Regions from separate parts of the Homo sapiens genome. Here all the other regions are linked to region 5. Evidence: promoter capture Hi-C in human tissues and cell types (Jung and others, 2019). All regions are on one chromosome and are shown on one strand. The core of a region is centred on a gene start or on the middle of the fragment in contact, and the rest is flanking DNA. Distances in the headings are between cores, read along the strand shown. Region 1 has its middle 300 kb from the start of RAB28. Region 2 has its middle 280 kb from the start of RAB28. Region 3 has its middle 380 kb from the start of RAB28. Region 4 has its middle 360 kb from the start of RAB28. Region 5 holds the start of NKX3-2 (NK3 homeobox 2). Region 6 has its middle 240 kb from the start of RAB28. Region 7 has its middle 410 kb from the start of RAB28.

Region 1 (2,700 bases), core at 153-2,652, 370 kb before region 5:
CAGTGTAAACAGTGAGGTTGCCCAGATATAAGAAAATCAAATGCCTGCTCTCCTTGTTTCTTGAAACACACCCTCCAAGCCTCTATCTCCATTGCCAAGACAGCAGTACTCCTCTACTTACAGCAAAACTGGGAGCATAGTATGTAATAAGAGGCACCTGTCAGGAGATAAATAAAAGGGAATGGTGGGGATTTGGATGACCTGGAGAACACTTTTCTCATTTCAACTTAGCAGACACCATTCAGTTCCAGCCAATTCATACCAAAAGGGAAATGAATTTAAAGCCTCAGGACACATTTTTTATGTAAAATCTCTTGATTTCTAGATGTTAGTTTAAATCTAAGAACAATGTGGGTCAGTGTATGATTGCTGCCTTAGACATATCAGATTAGGGTGTGGATATAAGTTAACATTTCCTAAGATTTATATTATGACATACAAATTTCTTAGGTGCTTTAGGCTTCATGGTCCAATAAGTTTAGAAAATCGATCTAAGTAATGTGAAACAAATATCTTAATCTTTACTCTTTACTAATATGCAGTGTAAATTTCTGAGAGGGAAATCTAGGAAGCAAGTTTTTTTAAATGTCTATAACCATGAACGTCCTTTTTTTCAAGGACCATCTCAAGGGGCTACTGAGCCACAGAACAAGCTTAGGGAATGCTGGCTCAGGGAAAAGGGATCTCACCAACTGCCCAAGCTGCTCAAATTGCTGGCCTCAGGCCAGGGGCACAAAAGAAGCCTTTGTGGTCCACATAAGACCCAGTCCAGTGCCTCAGGAGGCTACACTGAGGTTTGGAGACAAAGCCCTTTCTAGTAATGAAGTGCTCAGTAGCTGGGTCTTGAACATCTGTCTCCTTTTGGGGCCTCACAGTATGACTCTGGTAGGTCTTTCATTCTTATTACAACAAATATTAAGTGTAGGGGAAAACAGAGATGCAAAGACACACCTCTTTTTGCAAAACTTCAAGTTCTGCAGGAAGGCAGAGGTGCAGACAGAAGGATGCAGAAAGTAAGATCATTGCTGTATTAGGATTCTCTAGAGAGACAGAACTAATAGGATATATATATATATATATATATATGGAAGTGTATTAAGTATTAACTTACATGATCACAAGGTCCCACAATAGGCTGTCTGCAAGCTTGAGGAGCAAGGCGAACCAGTCCGAGTCTCACCACTGAAGAACTTGGAGTCCAATGTTCGAGGGCAGGAAGCATCCAGCATGGGAGAAAGATGTAGGCTGGGAGGCTAGGCCTTTTCATATTTTTTCTGCGTGCTTTATATTTGCTGGCAGCTGATTAAATGGTGCTCATCAGATTAAGGGTGGGTCTGCCCTCCCCAGCCCACTGACTCAAATGTTTATCTCCTTTGGCAACACCCTCACAGAGACACCCAGGATCAATACTTTGCATCCTTTAATCCAATCAAGTTGACGCTCACAAAGTGACACAGGCATGAAGGAGAAGAGGCACCAAGCTTTGAGAATCAAGAAAGGCTTCAAGAGTTTGCCAGCTGGTCAATGACGTGAGGGCATTCCAAGCGGAGAATGCCATTGGTCAGTGGTTCTCAACCAACAGCAGCCTTGCTCCCCCAGGTGATACCTATTTGGCAAGGTCTGAATACATTTTTCATGGTTACAACAGAGAAGAATAGACTTGCTACTGGTGCCTAGTGAGTAAAGGCCACGGATGCTGCTAAGTGTCCTACAATGCACAGAACAGTCCCAAGACAAAAAATTTATCTTTCCCAAACATCAGTAGTTTCAAGGCTGAGAAATCCTTCCATAGGAAAGGCACAGAGGTGTGAAGGCACAGGTTAGCTTAGGCATCAGCAGGTGTCTGATGCAGCTTATTAAGGCTATTAGAGGCCCATTTCCCTTTTCCGTCATTTCCAGAGCATAAGCCCCTCAAATTCACTGACATCCTGTATTGGTATGTATGCTCCCAGAGCCTAGTCTATGGTAAGTGCAAAGTAAATGAATAAAACAGGTTTCCCAAGAGTCAGTAGTGGTAAGAGTGCTGCTGAGAGCACAGGTGTCCTAAGTTCCCGTGGCAGCCAGAACAAATTACCATAACTTAGTGGCTGAAAACAACAGGAACTTATTCCCTCACAGTTCTGAAAGCAGGTGTCTGAAATGGAGATGCTGGCAGGATTGGTTCCTTCTGGAGATCCTGAGAGATTCTTCCTTGTCTCTTCTTGCTTCTGGGGCTATCAGGTGTTCCTTAGCTTGTGGAAGCACAAATCCAGTCCATGCTTCCATCTTCTCATGGATCTTCACTTTGCCTTCTCCTCTGTATCTATGCCTTCTCCTCTTCTGTCTCTTATAAAGACACGTCTCTGGATTTATAGTCTACTCAGTTAATCCAGAATAATCATATCTTGAGATCCTTAATTACATCTGCAAAGACACTTTTTTCAAACAAGGTCATATTTGCAGGTACTGGGGGCTAAGATTTGAACATAGCTTTTTGGGGTGCCACTGCCTTAAGTACTACAACAGATATGCCTGGATGGTAGAAAAAAGGGAATTGTCTATAGGAGGGAAAGAGTGACTCCTCCACCTGGGTCATGATTACTCCAAGAGTTGGCCATGGTGATTCCATTTCTGACTCTCACTTCAATAAAAAAGTCAGTAAGATAAATGTTGGGCACATTCATTTTGAAGCACAAATTACATGTGTACTTCAGAATACAT
Region 2 (2,700 bases), core at 92-2,591, 340 kb before region 5:
CTGCAGAACCCATGGGTATGAGCAGTCAACCTTCTGTTGTATCTTCACATCCCTCAAATACCATATTTTCTATTCGGATTTGGTTGAAGCTGCTGATACAAAGGGCTGACTGTACTTTCACACCTTGACTTTGGACTTAGACTTGTGACTTTCTATTGATAAACAGGATGTTAGCAGATGTGACACAAGCAGGGGCTTAAAAATGTGCTTAAGGGCTGGGCGTGGTGGCTCACGCCTGTAATCCCAGCACTTTGGGAGGCCAAGGTGGGTGGATCACGAGATCAGGAGATCGAGACCATCCTGGCTAACACATAAAAAACACTAAAAATTACAAAAAATTAGCTGGGTGTGGTGGCGGGCATCTGTAGTCCCAGCTACTTGGGAGGCTGAGGCAGGAGAATGGCGTGAACCCAGGAGGTGGAGCTTACAGTGAGCAGAGATCGTGCCACTGCACTCTAGCCTGGGGGACAGAGCGAGACTCTGTCTCAAAAAAAAAAAATGTGCTTAAGCAATATGTGCTTTCACATGCTTTTAACATCACAATGAAAAAAAAATACAATGTGGCTGTCCTACTGATCCAAGGAGGTTGAAAGATACATGCAACAGACCTTACCTCAACCTGTAGCTTATCTGCAAGTAGCCAAACCAATCTAGCTCAGCCAACCTTCAGTCGACCTGCAGACATGCAAGTTAAATAAATGCTGATTTTTGTATGAGAGTTTATGTTGCTAGTTATGTAGCAATAGTTGACGATACACTGAAATAATAAGATAATAATTACTTCCCATTAGAGCTACATGAAGAGCTGAAGAGTATGCGAAAGGTGAATTCAGAAACTAACCATAAAACTGGGTAGGCAGATCACAGAGTCTAGTAGGTAGAAGCAATGATTCCAAACCTCCTTTTCAGAAAACTATGGTCTCCTTAGGATCACAGGAGAAATGGAGAGATAAAGTAATCTCAAGTCATATACATAGAGCCTTATTTGCTACAGGGCTCTACCTAGAGAAGGGAAAAGTCTGTTCTGTACACACAGATTCTCAACACTTGCAGTTTGCACAAAAGCTTATTAATTTCCAGTACCCTCCCTTGCCTCTGTACTATTTTAAAACAGTTTATACCATATTGATTTAAAAAGGATGTATGGAGTAGCTAAAACCCCAAGTCAGTATATTTAAATCCAAAACCAATGTGGTTCCAAAGGAACTGCTGCAGAGGTGAAGAGGGCCTCAGCTGGCTTTACCCCACAGATCTCCATCCTAGAGTCAACCAGAACAACTCCAGTCTTTATTGTTTTATACTCTGGGATTCCACATAACATTTCATTAGAACAGGAGTGACTGCCAGGCTTTCCAGCCCTGCCACAAACATGACAGCTGTAGTCTCTAAAACATAGGACTAAAACTAAACTCATCGTTTTGCCCCTCCCAAACACTGCTCAACCTTCTTAATTCCCCTTTAGAGATTCTCATCACCTTTCATCCACAGATGAGTAAGCCACCAACCTGGGAGCTACCTTTATCCTCACTTTATTATTCCCATCTCATCTGTCTCCTAAATGAATGACCAATATGTGCCTCTCTCTCTACTCGGACTGTCACCATCCTTGTTCTCACTGCCATTGCTTACCTGGGAGGCTCAACAGTCTTCTAACTTTGGCATCTCTATCTCTCACTTACACTCTCAGTAATGGACAGGCTCTCAGATGGCCCCCAATGATTCCCACCTCCTGGTGACATCGCCTCTCCTTGTGTAAGCTCAACTCCTTGAGTGACTTGCTTCTAACCAATAGAGTATAGCAAATGTGATGGAGTACTGCTTCCATGAATAGGGTACACGAGATTCTGACTTTTGTCTTACTGATATACTCTCCTCCTTGCTGGTTTTGACAAAACAAACTGCAGTGTCTGAGCTGCCCTATGGAGAGGCTCACGTGGCAAGAAACTGAGAGTGGCTTTCAGCTGAAAGCCAAAAGGGAACTAAGGTCTGAAATCCAATAATCTACAAAGAATTGAATCCCAACAACCACTACACAAGCCAGGAAGTGGGTTTTCGGTTCTTCCCCACTTGAGCTTTCCCTTTGATTGCTGCCTCATGAGAAACTCTGAGGACTTAGCTAAGTCATTCCTGGATTCCTGATCCATAGAAACTGTCAGCTAATGCATGTGTGTTGTTTTAAACCACTGAAGGGTTTAAATTAATTTGTTACACAGCGACAGGTGACTCATACACCCCTCCAATGCACACGATGGCACAGTCAGAGTGATGGCTCTAAACACAAATCTGACCATCCCCTTCCTCTTACTCTAACCCTTCCTTCAATGTCACAGGAAGCAAAAAAGTGGCATTCACTGAGTGCCTACCTTGTGTTGGCCTCTTCATGTGCTATCTCATTTCATCTACACAGCAACCCAGCAAAGCCAGGATTATTAATTCTCTTCAACAGAATTTTTTTTAAACTAGAGAATTAAGTAACTTGTTCAAAACTACAGAGCTAGGAAATGACTAAGCCATAACTATGACCAAAATTACCTAGCTTCAAAACTCTTTCTGCCACACCAACCTTTCACAAAACCCAAAACACCCTATTGTAGCGTCAGGGAGATGCTAAAGTCAGGCAAACCGGGGCAGATGAACCTTAAGGCCTAGGAGAAGAGGAAGTTCAGCAAAATGAGGAAAAGAGAGAAATCAGAATGTTTC
Region 3 (2,700 bases), core at 29-2,528, 440 kb before region 5:
GCAAGGACTCAAGTCTCCAAGTGACAACCCCCAACTCCATGGGGGGATGAGTCATGCTTACTGAGCTCAGAAGCTGAACAGACTCCAACCCTGTGGGCAGCCCCTCTGTCTTAATTAAAGTCTCCTATGCCCCCACATCAATGGAGTGTGGGCGCCACTCTATAGAGGCAACCAGAGTGAGTGCGTGCTGGGCAAATGGCAGCTCGATTACACAAATCCCTGTGCTTGCAATGTGGTCCTGACCCAGGTTCTGAACTTGCACCTCCTGCTGCTGGCACCTGTTCGTGCTCCTCTCAGGTCTCCCTCTTGCTCCCTACTTCAGGCTGAGCCAAAGAATTAAGCCTCTCCTAAGACAGGCTTGGCCATAAGGCAGCCCGGACATGAAGTCACATTCTACAGACTCCCAGTGGCACCGCTAGTGTGAGAGTTTCTTCGTGAAGGAAATTTCGATGATAAGTTAATTCTATTGACAGACGGCCAGGAAATTGGTCAGGCCTACTATGGTCTTTAGATTCACTCTACTGGTGGCACTGCCTACATTTCCTCATAAATCAGAGGGTCTCAGAGTCCAAAGGAAACTTGGAAGAAGTGATGCTTTATGTTTGGAAAATTGAAGCACAGAGAGGTTGTATGACTTGCCTAAGTCACATAGCTAGTAACTGCGGAAGTCTAAATTCAAATTCAGGTACATCTGATTCCAACATAGGCTCTTTCTAATACACCAGAGTCTCAAAATCTTGCCCCTTTAAAGATGTTTCAGGAATTCCAGAAACAATAGTGTTTTCCACCAAATAATAAAAAATGTTTTAAAATCAGTCATAAATAGTTCATCTCCTTTATCTATTTTTAATTGGAATTTATCAGGTTTCTATTCAAAGAAGTTTAAACAATATTACACTGACATGTGCTCAATGAAAATGAAATGATCCATGTTTTTGGAGTTAGTTGGCTGACTTAGAATTGGCCAACAGTACAACAGAATATAAAAAGAGCCTTGTTGGTTAAAGCATATGAACTGGGAATGCGCCGCACTCAGAAGTGGAGAGGGCCATGTGCTGCTAGATGCTGCCCTCAGGTTGGAGAAGAATTAACTCTGAGATCCCGCAGCCTTTGTGGAAGAGCGCCCCCTCCACCAAGGGTACACCTCCTCCCCATGGACAGCTCTCTTCCAGCGTCTCATCACTGGGTTCTGCCAGGGTACAGTGGCCTTAAGGGAACAACTCATCTCAGCCTCCCAGCTCCAGAGCCCCTGTGAGACGAGCTGAGAACTTTTTTGCAACTGCATTTCAGCCTAATTTTCCCTTCTGCTCAATTCTTCCTCCCCTACCCCCTCACACTCCCCAGGGAAGCACCTGCATGCGAACCACAGAGTCTCAGTGTCTACTTCCTGCAGAATCTGACCTAAGTCAGGTGGGTGAAACTGTGCCACTTAGAACTGTAAGATCTGTTATTACTATTTTTAAACAGAAAATATTAAATCCAATATGCAGTGATTTAGAAAAGTAAAATATGTAGTCAAGCAGATTACTTAATAAATATATATATATATTTATTATATATAAAAAGATGTTTATTTTTCTTTAAATTATAGGTCATATCCTTCAACTATGTGTATATTCTAGTTTTTTAAACTGAAAAAGATATTTTTAATAGAACTAAGCTTCATTAACTGGATTATGTCTTCTACGATCAGTAATCACACCTGATAAAACATTGTTTTTTGGTCCCCTATTAGCCAAGCTACTCCCAGTCACCATGTGGTACCTACAAGGTGCTGAGAGTGAGATAAACTCTATTTCAGTGTGACTAGCCCTCATCACTGGTAAAGATTCAACACTCGAAAAGGAAAAGGGACAGATAAGGTGATGGTACTTCCATTTCCTATGAAGACAAAAGACATATCTGAGGCAAATATGGCAATATCTAAAAAAATTGAGTAGTATCAGATGACAGATTTCGGCCTTCTCTGTGTTTGAGATATCTTATTACCAAAATGATTAATTTTTAATAGTATTTATTCACTTCCAGGCTGGATATCAGCATATGATTAGTAACCATGAAACAAATAATACCTGATTGTTATTCTGCCATTGACATGATGTCCATCACTCAGGTCACTTGCCACCACCTCTTTGTCATCCCTGTGTTTTGTAGATTACAAAAAATATGGACTCACAAGCTGGTTCTATATAAGTGCCCCTGTGAAAAACACTGCTCTTTATTTCCTAAGATCTCGTCGTTTTTTCTTCCTTATAAATACAAAATCTGAGAGTTACTCAGTGCATTGCTGACATAGATGCATTTTCCACCAGTTCTTGCAAGTAATTATGACCATGTGACCAACTATTAACCAATGAATAAAAGTATCCCCAATATGGGCAGCTTCTTGGAAGTGTCCCCAACATGAAGAGGTAGCCCTTTCTTTTTCCCTTTTTCTTTACTGTTGTCTGGAATAAAGAAATAGTGCCTGGAGCTGTTCTTGTCATCATGGACAGTAAGGTGGCATTCTAAGCATGAAGAGGTAAGACAGGAGGATCCTGGTGCCAGATAATTATGGCACCATGCATCCTGGACCAGACACTTTGTTTACCTAAATAAGAAAGTCTGGTCTATTGCAATACAATCGCCATGTTTAGGAAATTTGAGGTTATTTGTCACATGCAGATGAACCTAATCATAATAAAAATTGTCACTAAAAAA
Region 4 (2,700 bases), core at 100-2,599, 420 kb before region 5:
GCAAGTAAGTCCTAGGATGGACTGCTTTTCACGCCAACACCACGGACACACACGGAGAAAGGCACACGCAAACACCTGAGCACATGGACACACACACATAAACACACCACCCATGAACACCCACTGTGCTGACTTGGCATTGGATCCAAATTTGACAAACCAATGCCTGAAGGCACATAGCCGAGCCTAAACTGTTGCAGGTTCCTTTTCCCATAAAAATAATAATAACGAATGAAAATATTTGGAACATGGCCAGAGCCTAATGCAACACAATTTCTAAATTCAGTATCCTCCTTCCCCCACACACATACTCCCCATTTGCGCCACCACCTCCTTCTTGCCTTTCTATGCAGGCTGCTTATCCTACCTCGAATAAAAAGTCATTTAATAGCTGCTTCAATCTCAGTGTCTAATGCATTAGGTTTCCTCCCTAAACTTCACAGATAGAGGTCCACTCTGCAGAAGGCAAAAGAACTTCAGACTGGAATCAAGCAGCCATTAACATGCTGTGTGATGTTAGAAGCGTTAACTCCCCTGTCTGTGCTACATGAGTAAATTTCCACATGAGTGAACAAGAGGGTTGGCTGTGATGATTCCTTTCCCTTCTAATTTTTTAGATAATGGTTTAGAGCATGGGCTCTGGAGCCAGGCTGTTCAAATCCCAACCATTTACTTACTAGAGTGTGATCTTAGGTTTGTCAGTGCACCCTTATGTGCTTTAGTGTATTGGTTTATTTCTTTGTTAAATAACAACAACAATAATGAGGAAGACTTTGAGGATGATGATAGACACTGCCTCGTAGGGTTGTAGTGAAGACTAAATGATATGTTATATACAAAGTGCTTAGAAGAGGGCCTGCTCCATGTAAGCCTCACGTAAAGCTTACTTGCTGTTACATTATAAAAATTAAGAAATGATTTGTGGAGGTCATACTATTAACTCTTTCTGTCTTATTTCTGTATTTAAAAATAAAAGAGTGATTTCAAAAAAAAACAACTTTAACACATACTTCTGGTCACATGAGGGGACAGTTGTTCTGCCTAATTGCTAAAACCCATGACTCTTGGACCTTGCAAATCAATTAGGCCTTGTTGAGCATTGCTGGTGCTGCTTGGGAAGGCTGAGGACAAGAGAGGGAGGAAAGCCCAAAGTTAGGAATAAAGTGCGCTGGCAAACCGAGGGGAACTCACACGGAGCCTTCGCCACACAGTCTTTGGCAGCAGGCAAGCCTCTTCATCTCTCAATTTCATGGTCACCAAAAATCACACATAAAAAGCCCAGTGACTAAACGAATATGGAAACTGAATGGCTCAAAAAACCCCGAGATGTGGTCAGTCTGGGTCACCTTCAAGTCATGCTGTGGCATCTCAGGGTGATGGAAGGTCAGTCCCTGCGACCTTCACTGGGGAATATAAAGGAAAGAAAATAATATTTCAATCTCCTGAGCTATTGATGCAGAAAACTTCACAAGAGCTAAATCCAGGTCAGAAAAACAAACATCGTTCAAATTATTCAATCTTCCAATATCCTGGTTCATAAGCAGATTTCCTCCTAAATGAGTCATTGGAAACTGCTCTTTCAAAAGCAGGTATTTCTTTGCCTTTTATAAAAGTTTGAATACACTGCTTAGCAAGAATAACAAGGAAAAAATAATGTAAACTGAGGCAGGAGGATGGGAGAACAGAATTATTATCTCTGATCTGTGCATTCAACTGAAACCCAGACAGCATGCTCTATCTCTATTAATTTCCCACCCTAACAAAGCTCTGTACTAGAAGCCTGAAAGTCTAGGATCTTAGCCTCGGAATATTTGCTGAAGAGCTGTGTGACCCTGAGAAATCAGTTGACCTCTCTGTGCCTGTGTCATCGTGTATTCAGTGAAAACATCAGCTCCACTTCAGCTCATGTGTTCTATGGTTTGAGGCATCTACCAGACCTGGCTGTTCCGCTTCTCAATCACATAACCTTGACCAAGTCATTTCCCTAAGCTGGTTTTCAGTTTCATTGTCTGCAAAATAGGGATAATTATTATTATCTATTTCACAGGGTTAATATGAGGCTAAAATAAAATAATGTGTATGGACAGGCTCCACAAACAACAACACATATACAAATATAATGGATTCTCATCATGATAACTAATATTTAATGAAGGCTTACTATGAGCCTGGCACTGTTCTAAATTTACCTAAACAAACAGTGCTTTGTCCTACGAGCGAAGTGTAATCATTGCTTCCACTTCATAGATAAGAAATGGAGCTGACTTGGCACAAGTCCTCCAGAAAGCAGAACCTGAAACAAGGGCTTCCTTGGAGGCAGTTTATTTGGATAAGTGATCACAAGAAATGTGCCTGGCTAGTGGGGCTGTAAGGAGAGCAACAGAGATAAAAGCACCTGGGTAGACTCTGCTAGGTCCCCTCTGAGCAGCTGTGTAGAAAGCACCTCAGAGTTGTGACCCAAGGGACAGAAGAGGGGGCTGTTATCCACCAACTTTCACCCTCCATCGGTGGAGAGTTTCCCTGTGAGATGCTAGAAATTAATCCCCTTGCACATCCAGGTTTGCACGTGCCCTCATCAGAATGTCTGAGTGGTGCCCTCCAGGTACCTCAGGCAGCAGGCAGAGAAGCTGCAGCTTAATTAAGGGGGAACAGAAAGGGGACTTGAGATAATGCCAGGCAGGCACAGGAGGTGTCTGTTAC
Region 5 (2,700 bases), core at 53-2,552:
GAACTCCAGCAGAAAGGTCCAGCGGTCCCCTGTGCTTGAGGCCTACAGAAGCTTGTACCCAACTAGGGCAGGCACCCGGGTCTTCCAGACCACAGGACAGGACAGGCCACGGCTGAGGAGGCCTCTCTCCTGCCTCCAGGATGAACTAAAGACCCAATCCGGGATCTTCGGCCTAGGGCTGCTCTCCCAGACCTGGGGTCTGAGAAAGCCAAACCAGCCCTTTCCCCAAAGCTCTAGTTCTGCAGATTCTCAGCTCTGGCCCACTCGGAGGTGTTCTTCACCACCTATCCACCTACTGTGGGGCCCGGCCCTGGGACCTTGAACTGGCAGGTCTCTGGTCCAGAGCTAGGTCACTGGCTACCTGAGGTCTCTGAACCCCTCACTTTTCCGCTTCCCTGATTTTGGGGATTTGGGGACAGACACGGCAGAAAGCACTGGCGACGAACTCAAAAACTCCCGAACGCAAGGGGCAGCGGTTCTCCCAACCCAGTCTAATGCACATTGGCCCAGGATGTCTCAGGCCTCACCCCAGGACGTAGGGCTCTGAGGAGCTACTCCGGTCTCTCGCGGGCTCAGTTCCCGAAGTGATAGAGCAGCTCGCGCCAGAGCGCAGAACTTCGGGATTTGGCCAGCCTCCGAGCCCCAGGGCGCAGGGTGCTCAAGCCGACCACCCCACTCGGCGTGGTTGCCCTCCGCGTCCATCCCCTCAGCCCGGCCCCCATCCCCGCGAAGCCGCAGCAGACCTGAGACGCTGGCGGACATCTCGCTGTCGCTCCGGCCCGCGGCTTCCTCCTCTAGGTCTTTGGAAGCGGCCAGCTCACAGACCGGCTGGCCGAGGCTCAAGGATCCCCCCGCAAGGCCGGCCCCGCTGGCCCCCCGCGCGTCCGCGCAGCGCCGCCTGCTCTCGTTCTCCTCGCTGAGCGCGGAGTCCGAGTCCCAGCCTTCCGGGCTCTCCGCAGTCCGCCCCGCAGCTGTTCTGGTACCGGCAGGAGACGCCAGCAGAGAGTCCTCGGCGCCCCCCAACGCGCCCGCGTCCCTCTCCCCAAAGAGCCGCCAACAGCAGACAGCGGGAGCCGCGGCCACCGATGCCGCTGTGCCCCCGGGCGCCGGGCGCCCCTCTGGCGCGGCCAGCCCGCCGCGCTCCTCTTTCTTGTTGAGGATCGCCTGGATGGAGAAGGACGTCAAGGTGTTGGCGCCGCGCACAGCCATCTGCGCCGCGGGCAGGAGCGGCCGGCGGGGCGGGCAGCTGGGGCGCCGAGCAGCTCCGAGCGGGACAGAGAGCGCCGGCGGCCGCAGCGCGAGTGAGCTGGGTGTGCGAGGCCGCCGCCGCCCACTGCTGCGCGGCCCAGCAGCTCCCGCCCCACTCCGTCCCAGGATCAGCGCCGACCCTCGCCCCCACCTTAGAGGCCCACCCCGCCCGGAGACCCCCTCCCCCCGAATCCAGAGCCAGACGCTCTCCTTTCGCAGCTCAGCTGGATTATCTCATCGCTTCTCGCCCTTAGGGGCGGGCTGGGGTCTGCCCCCTCGGGGGACGTGAAGGAGGATTGGCGGGGGCCCCTCCGTGGCAGCAGTCCCCTCCCGAGCGCCGCCGGGGCGCACAGCCCGAGTCACTTTTTCTTTGCGCGTCTGTCCCTTCCTCGCCTGCAGGATTTCGCTCCTGGCCCGTCCTCCCCTTCCCTGCTGGGCAGGCTCTTCCGGAGCCCACCCCCGGCGGCGGCGGCGGTAGCCGCGGCCGCGGCCGCTGGATTCCGAGAGGCGCGGGGAACTTTTTTACCCCCTGCCCTGGTTTTATCTGTTTCTTTTCTCTTTCCTTCCCTTGCGTTCCACTGTACCACCCCCCTCCCGCCCGGGTGTCATTCCTCACTGCTGAGTGACAGCCTGAGGCCACACCCCTCCACTGGGCTGTCCCGGGCGCTCCCGGCCGTCCATTGGCTGGCTCCAGTTGGGCGACGTTGACTTTAACAGACAAAACTGGGCACGTTGCGCCGCTAAAGACAGGGTCTGACTTAACCCCTTCTCTCCTAAGCCTGGTCCTCGAAGCACCCTCCAGCAACAAGGAGGCTCATCCGACCCAAACCACGTTTCTTACCTCTGCAGATGTATCCACTTATTCCAGCGCTTTAACAGAACACTGATACTAAGTTGAGTCAAATCTGCGGAGAAAATCCAAGATAATGCAGTTCCATAAATCATGCTCGTAGTTTCTGTTCTCTAGGAAGGATTATAAACACGAAGAACAAAATGCATCCTTTTTTTTCTCCCTACAGTTTCGCCGCTTCTTCATTGCTAATGCTCTTTGCTGAAATGATCAGTTAATTAAGATCACTCTAGAAATATTTTTCTTTCCTCGTCGTCTTTGATTTGATTCGATTTTTATAGAGGAATTATAAAAAAATGGTATAGTTAGAACTAAAGTCAGGAGAAGAATTGAAAGGCATCTTTGGGAGAATTTCTGTAAATTTTATGGTCGTTTCCCTGGCAGACCAATATTGAATTTAATTGGAGTTTGTTAAGTTTTGCATCAGGAAGAAAAAAAAAACTTTCAATTTGTTTTTTTTAAATATCTCTTACTTGTGAGTTGAATAAAATTATAAATAGATATGTTTGTTTGCTTAGAAGTATACCTAGGAATTACCATAAAGTGATCCAGAAGTGACAACACTTTTTGCTCTTTAAAAAATAAGAAATGCATTGTATTAT
Region 6 (2,700 bases), core at 68-2,567, 300 kb before region 5:
TCTTCTTCTTTTTCTTCTTTCTTCTTCTTCTCCCTCTTCTCCATCTTCTTTCTCCTTCTACTTCTCATTCTTCTTCTTCTTCTCCTCCTCCTCCTCCCTCTCCTCCTCCTTCTTCTCCCTCTCCTCCTCCTCCTCCTTCTTCTTCTTCTTCCTCCCTCTCTCCCCCTCTCTCTCCCCATCCTCCTCTTTGAAGACTCCTATTATGTGTATATTGGTATGCTTGATGGTATGCCACAGGTCTATCCAGCTCCTTTCATTTTTTGTTGCTGTGTTCCCTTTCTGTTTCTCAGACCAGATAATTTCAATTACTTGCATTCAACTTGGTATATTCTTTCTCCCACCTGTTCAAGTGCCCCCACGGTGACTTTTTATTTCAGTTATTGCACTTTTCAACTCCATGTTTTTGGTTTGGCTGCTTTTTATCATTTTTATCTTTACTGATATTTTCAATTGGTTGAAAACTCATTCTTCAGCTCTCCTTTATTTCTTTAGACATGTTTTCCTTTAGCTCTTTGAATATACTTTAAATAGCTGATTTAAAGTCTTCATCTAGCAAGTCCAACATTTGAGCTTCCTCAAAGACAGTTTCTAGTGACTGCTTTTTCCTATGTAAGAGTCATACTTTCTCGTTTCTGTGCATATCTCATAATTTCTGTCAAAACTGAACATTTTAGGTAATATGGCAATTCTGGATTCTACCCCCTGCCCCCAACCAGGGTTTGTTGTTTTTACTGTTATTGCTGTTGTTTGTTTAGTAATTTTTTGAACTAGTGCTGTAAAATCTGCATTCTTTTACATGTATCAACACAGAAGTCTCTGCTTTGTTAACATAGTTGTCAATTGGACAGAGATGTCCTTAAGTGCCTGGAATCAATAAGCCCCCAAGTCTTTGACAAATGGCTCTACGTGCATATTGAACATGCCTTCAACATTTAGCTAGACAGTTAACTACTCTGCTTTAATTTTCAGTTTCCCCTAAGTGAAGCCTCAAAGTGAGACACTGGTGAGAGCTTAGAGCCTTCTCAAGCATTCCCTGAACGTTCATACATACCACAGCATGCACATGGCCTTCTAGATTCTCAGGAATGTGTCAAAGTTCTTCAGAGCCCTTTATGGACATCAATTTCAAGCATTTCCTGTTAAGCTATTATTTGCCCCAACTATTATTCACTACCACAGGCAGCCATAATCTAAACAAATGCTCTTAATTGTTTTCAATAAATGACCCCAAGAAAAAAGCTATTCATACTAGATGATCTCTGAATCAGTTAAATAAGACTACTTTGAGAATGGGGTCTTCCAGGGAACCACCAGGCAGGTCAAAAAAAATAACAAATTCTCCAGAAATAGGATTTTGAAAGAGTTCCAACCCTCTTTTGCCCCCTCTAGTGGCAACCAAGTCTCGAGTTTTTACTGTGGTCATAGTCTGTTGGTTTTCAAGGTTACCATGGAGCTGGAAATGAAGGGATGAGAATAGGAAAAATTAATACTGCACTGTTCATATCAGGTTTTTATACCAAAATTCAGCTGCTTTTCTTAAATGTTCCCTGAATTTTCCCCAAATCTTTTATTAATGTCTACAGTTTTTTAAAAAAGTTAATTCTGAAAATTGTTGCCCTTGTTCTTATTGCTTTTATGGAGGAGAGGACTTTCAGAGGCCTTTATTCTACCACTTTCACTGATACCCAAACCAGACTTATTTTATGTCAGTGTTTCTTTGCTCTGTTTGACCCACTTAAGCTTCTGGCTGCTCTTTATACTCTTTTTTATTCCAATTTCTTCATTGCCCACTTTCAATCAAGACTTGTTTTTCCTATCTCAAGTTTTTCAAATATTTTTTGCTTCTACTGCTGTTGGCCTTAAGTAGGGGTTTTATCATCTGTTACCCAGATAACTTCAACAGTGTCCAAACAGGTCCCTTTGCAGCATGTCTTATTCTGTTCTAATCCATTCACCACCCCAGACACATTGATCATTTTGAAACATAAAACTGACTTCATCTTTTCTTATGTAAGTCCTTCCATAGATTCACATTATCTCCAGAATAAAGCCCAATCCTGGTCATGGCAGAGTATACAAGGCCTGCTTGATTTGGCCCTAAATCTCCCCTCTGCCCTTGCAAATCTTAGCCCAGCCATACATATACGTGCAATTCCATATCAATTCTGCATAGTCTCATTAGTATTCTTGTCCCTTCTTCCCTTAGTGAATCAATCAATTAATTAATTTGGTACATATTTTCTAAGCATTTACTATGTGTCAGGCCCTATGGAAGGCACAAGATAAAAGAAAGTGAATAAGACCAACAAGGTTCTTCTTCCTGTGGATTTTATATACAGAGATGGAGACAAGTAAATAGATAAACAAACTGAATAATTACAGAATGCTGTAACTGCAATGCAGAGAGTAAATGGAATGATAGAAACAGGAGAAACTTGTTTATTAATCAGTGGGAAAAGAAAATTTCTCTCTAAAGAGGAAACATTTGAACTGAGACCTAAAGGATGAAAAGGAACCAATAAAGCAAAGACTCCCATGACAAAAGCCTGAGACCAAAATTAAAATCAAAGTGGGACAAAGGCAGAGACTAAACGAAAGGCAGATAAAAATAAAAGTAGAGAAAAGTTGTCCCAGAAACCCCCACACATTCCAATGAACACATACACACACACATGCACACACACGCACACGCACACACAC
Region 7 (2,700 bases), core at 153-2,652, 470 kb before region 5:
GCCAAGCTCAGACATGACACAGCACATCAGTGCTGCCCTCAGAAAGCTTATAACCTCGTCTATTTCCCCTTGAAGTCTAAACAATCTTGTTGTAGCTTTTCATTTGTTGTCTTCAATAATTTCTTACATTGTACAGTGTGTCTGGTACAGAGGAGAATTTATTACTTGCTCTGCCACTGACTCTGTGATTCTACATTTTTCTCACTACCTCAACAAATTGTGAATACCTGAAGATCTGGAATCCCCGGCCAGGAATGCCTTGGTATTCCCCATGGGGAACTGCAGTGCTTGGGAGGCAGTCAATGAATATTTGTTGGAAGGGTAAACAACAAATACTAAGGTTCTAGGGAATTTTTTTTCACTCTATTGTAAAAATGAAGCAGAAGAAAAGCATTTATTGTACTCATTTGGAGCAGTGATTTCTACTCTAGAGAAATCAGCAAGCCTCTATTACTCTAGGCTTATGGCCAGGTCTTTAAAATATTATTGTTATAGTAATATTTTTCCAACCATATTTGCTGTAATAGGATTTCACCTTAATTTGTTCTCTTGCCACAATGCAAATCAACAAACTATAGGACTAGAAGAAAATCAATCAAAAACGAACTCAGGAAATTGAGACCATCTACTCTAAAACTGCATTCCTTGGAGATATTTAAAAGACACTACATGTACACATGCACGCATGCACACACACACGCACACGTGCACAAGGAACAAGGATAGAGGATATGGGAGAAACCTGTAAACATACTTCTTGTTCCCCTCAGTGATTCACGATGGACCTTAACATATGAAAGACTTTGAGCAGCCCTAAAGTAAAGAAACTGATCAGTTTTGAATCACTCAGCATTCCTCGACTTATTGGAGCAAAGCCTTGATGAACCCAGAGATGAATCAAGTTGTGCAGACTGAACATCAGAAACTCTGATCTTGTATATTCCCCTCATTCGAGTGATAAGGAAGCTGGAGGTAATGTGGAATCGTGTAACACGCACAGAGTTTGAAATTTTTTTTTTTTTTTTTTTTTTTTTTTGAGACAGAGTCTTGCTCTGTCTCCCAGGCTAGAGAGCAGTGGCGCCATCTCGGCTCACTGCAAGCTCCGCCTCCAGGGTTCACGCCATTCTCCTGCCTCAGCCTCCCAAGTAGCTGGGACTACAGGCGCTTGCCATCACGCCCGGCTAATTTTTGTATTTTTAGTAGAGACGGGGTTTCACCGTGTTAGCCAGGATGGTCTCGATTTCCTGACCTCGTGATCCGCCCACCTTGGCCCCCCAAAGTGCTGGGATTACAGGAGTGAGCCACTGCGCCCAGCCCAGAGTTTAAAATTAACATGACCTGGTGCTGGCTTTCTTCTCTACCACCTAGGAGTTTGAGGCAAACAAGTAAGTTTACCTCTTGGAGCCGTGTCTCTTCCAACAAAACTTCTTTTAGCACTTGCTATGTGCCAGGCATTGTTATAGTCACTTGGGATATATGAGGGGACAAAAAAAAGACCTGAATCCCTGCTGTAAGATGCATAAAAATACCGACATCTCATAGCTATCATAAGGCTGAAATGGGGGATAGTTTTCAAGCATCTATCATGTTGTCAGTCTTAATAATTTTAAACAAACAAACAAAAAGCTATCAAATTTTTAAAGGAGGTAATGAGCTCATTCTACCAGAAGAAATCGGGTGCTACTGGTGTCTCCCGACTTCCCACATGCCACAGAATCTTCCTGGTTTATTATCCTATCGTCCAGATTTTTCCTACCAAAAGCTACAAATCACTGTACCAGTACTCAGTTATTTAAAAAAAGAATATGATAAATTTATTAATGAGCCAAGAAGAAACTATATTGCTGGAGAAACTTGAAGAATGGACTTCAAAAAGGAAGAATATAAATAGAGGTGTGGGGAGACAGAGGAAGGAATTTGGAAAAGCAAATGTGATTTAAGAAAGAAATATCAGATAATGATTGGATTATCCTCATAATCCAATTTCCAGATTAGATTTTTTTCCTGAACTCCAATCCTGAATGTTCAACTAACTCCTAAAAACCTCTACCTAGGCCAGACGTGGTGGTTCACTCTTGTAATCCCAGCACTTTCAGAGGCCGAGGCAGGCAGATCACTTGAGGTCAAAAGTTCAATGTCAGTCGCCAACATGGTGAAACCCCATCTCTACTAAAAATACAAAAATTAACTGGGCATGGCGGCACGTGTCTGTACTGCCAGCTATTCTAAAGGCCGAGGCAGGAGAATCACTTGAACCCAGAAGGTAGAGGTTGCAGTGAGCCAAGATCTTGCCATTGCACTGCAGCCTCGGTGACAGAGCAAGACTTCATCTCAAAGAAGAAAAGGAAAGAAAAAGAAAAAATCCTACCTGAGGCTCCTCAAGAACCCAACTATGACTTCATGCCTTCCAAAACCAAACATCCCACTCAATTTTTGAAACCAGTTCTTCCTCCTATGTTACTGAGTTAATGAACTATACCACAATGAAACCATCTACACCAGCAAATTCAGAGTCATATTTGCATTCTTCCTTTTTGTCCTCTCACTTGCAGGAGTAATAAGAAGACAAAGAAGAATTAAAATCTGTGACTTGTGAGCCATTTTGGGAAACAGTTTGGCATTTCCTTAAAACATTAAACATAGAATTAACATATGACCTAGCAATTCTACTCCTTAGTAATCACCTAAGAGAAATAAAAA

Evidence for each region. Contacts are between HindIII fragments. The study calls those that stand out against the background at their distance.
Region 1: a contact is called between a fragment that was not itself captured here and the fragment with the promoter of NKX3-2 in region 5, in 1 of the 25 tissues and cell types used here (H1 embryonic stem cells).
Region 2: a fragment that was not itself captured here is called in contact with the fragment with the promoter of NKX3-2 in region 5 in 3 of the 25 tissues and cell types used here (H1 embryonic stem cells, lymphoblastoid cells and mesendoderm cells).
Region 3: a contact is called between a fragment that was not itself captured here and the fragment with the promoter of NKX3-2 in region 5, in 1 of the 25 tissues and cell types used here (H1 embryonic stem cells).
Region 4: a contact is called between a fragment that was not itself captured here and the fragment with the promoter of NKX3-2 in region 5, in 1 of the 25 tissues and cell types used here (lymphoblastoid cells).
Region 6: a fragment that was not itself captured here is called in contact with the fragment with the promoter of NKX3-2 in region 5 in 4 of the 25 tissues and cell types used here (H1 embryonic stem cells, aorta, heart right ventricle and 1 more).
Region 7: a fragment that was not itself captured here is called in contact with the fragment with the promoter of NKX3-2 in region 5 in 2 of the 25 tissues and cell types used here (H1 embryonic stem cells and lymphoblastoid cells).

The regions. Positions count from the first base shown.
Region 1 is chr4:13,178,085-13,180,784 of GRCh38, forward strand. No RefSeq gene overlaps it. Among named protein-coding and RNA genes, the nearest start is that of RAB28, 300 kb to the right of the region's middle. The HindIII fragment of the contact is 3,956 bases long and covers 1-2,700 here.
Region 2 is chr4:13,199,286-13,201,985 of GRCh38, forward strand. No RefSeq gene overlaps it. Among named protein-coding and RNA genes, the nearest start is that of RAB28, 280 kb to the right of the region's middle. The HindIII fragment of the contact is 7,958 bases long and covers 1-2,700 here.
Region 3 is chr4:13,102,452-13,105,151 of GRCh38, forward strand. No RefSeq gene overlaps it. Among named protein-coding and RNA genes, the nearest start is that of RAB28, 380 kb to the right of the region's middle. The HindIII fragment of the contact is 3,623 bases long and covers 1-2,700 here.
Region 4 is chr4:13,125,287-13,127,986 of GRCh38, forward strand. No RefSeq gene overlaps it. Among named protein-coding and RNA genes, the nearest start is that of RAB28, 360 kb to the right of the region's middle. The HindIII fragment of the contact is 3,040 bases long and covers 1-2,700 here.
Region 5 is chr4:13,543,206-13,545,905 of GRCh38, forward strand. It overlaps NKX3-2 (NK3 homeobox 2), which reads right to left and starts at 1,303. Exons shown (of 2, transcript NM_001189.4): 1 at 744-1,303. The coding sequence starts at 1,209. The HindIII fragment of the contact is 14,287 bases long and covers 1-2,700 here.
Region 6 is chr4:13,247,715-13,250,414 of GRCh38, forward strand. No RefSeq gene overlaps it. Among named protein-coding and RNA genes, the nearest start is that of RAB28, 240 kb to the right of the region's middle. The HindIII fragment of the contact is 9,084 bases long and covers 1-2,700 here.
Region 7 is chr4:13,071,043-13,073,742 of GRCh38, forward strand. No RefSeq gene overlaps it. Among named protein-coding and RNA genes, the nearest start is that of RAB28, 410 kb to the right of the region's middle. The HindIII fragment of the contact is 7,483 bases long and covers 1-2,700 here.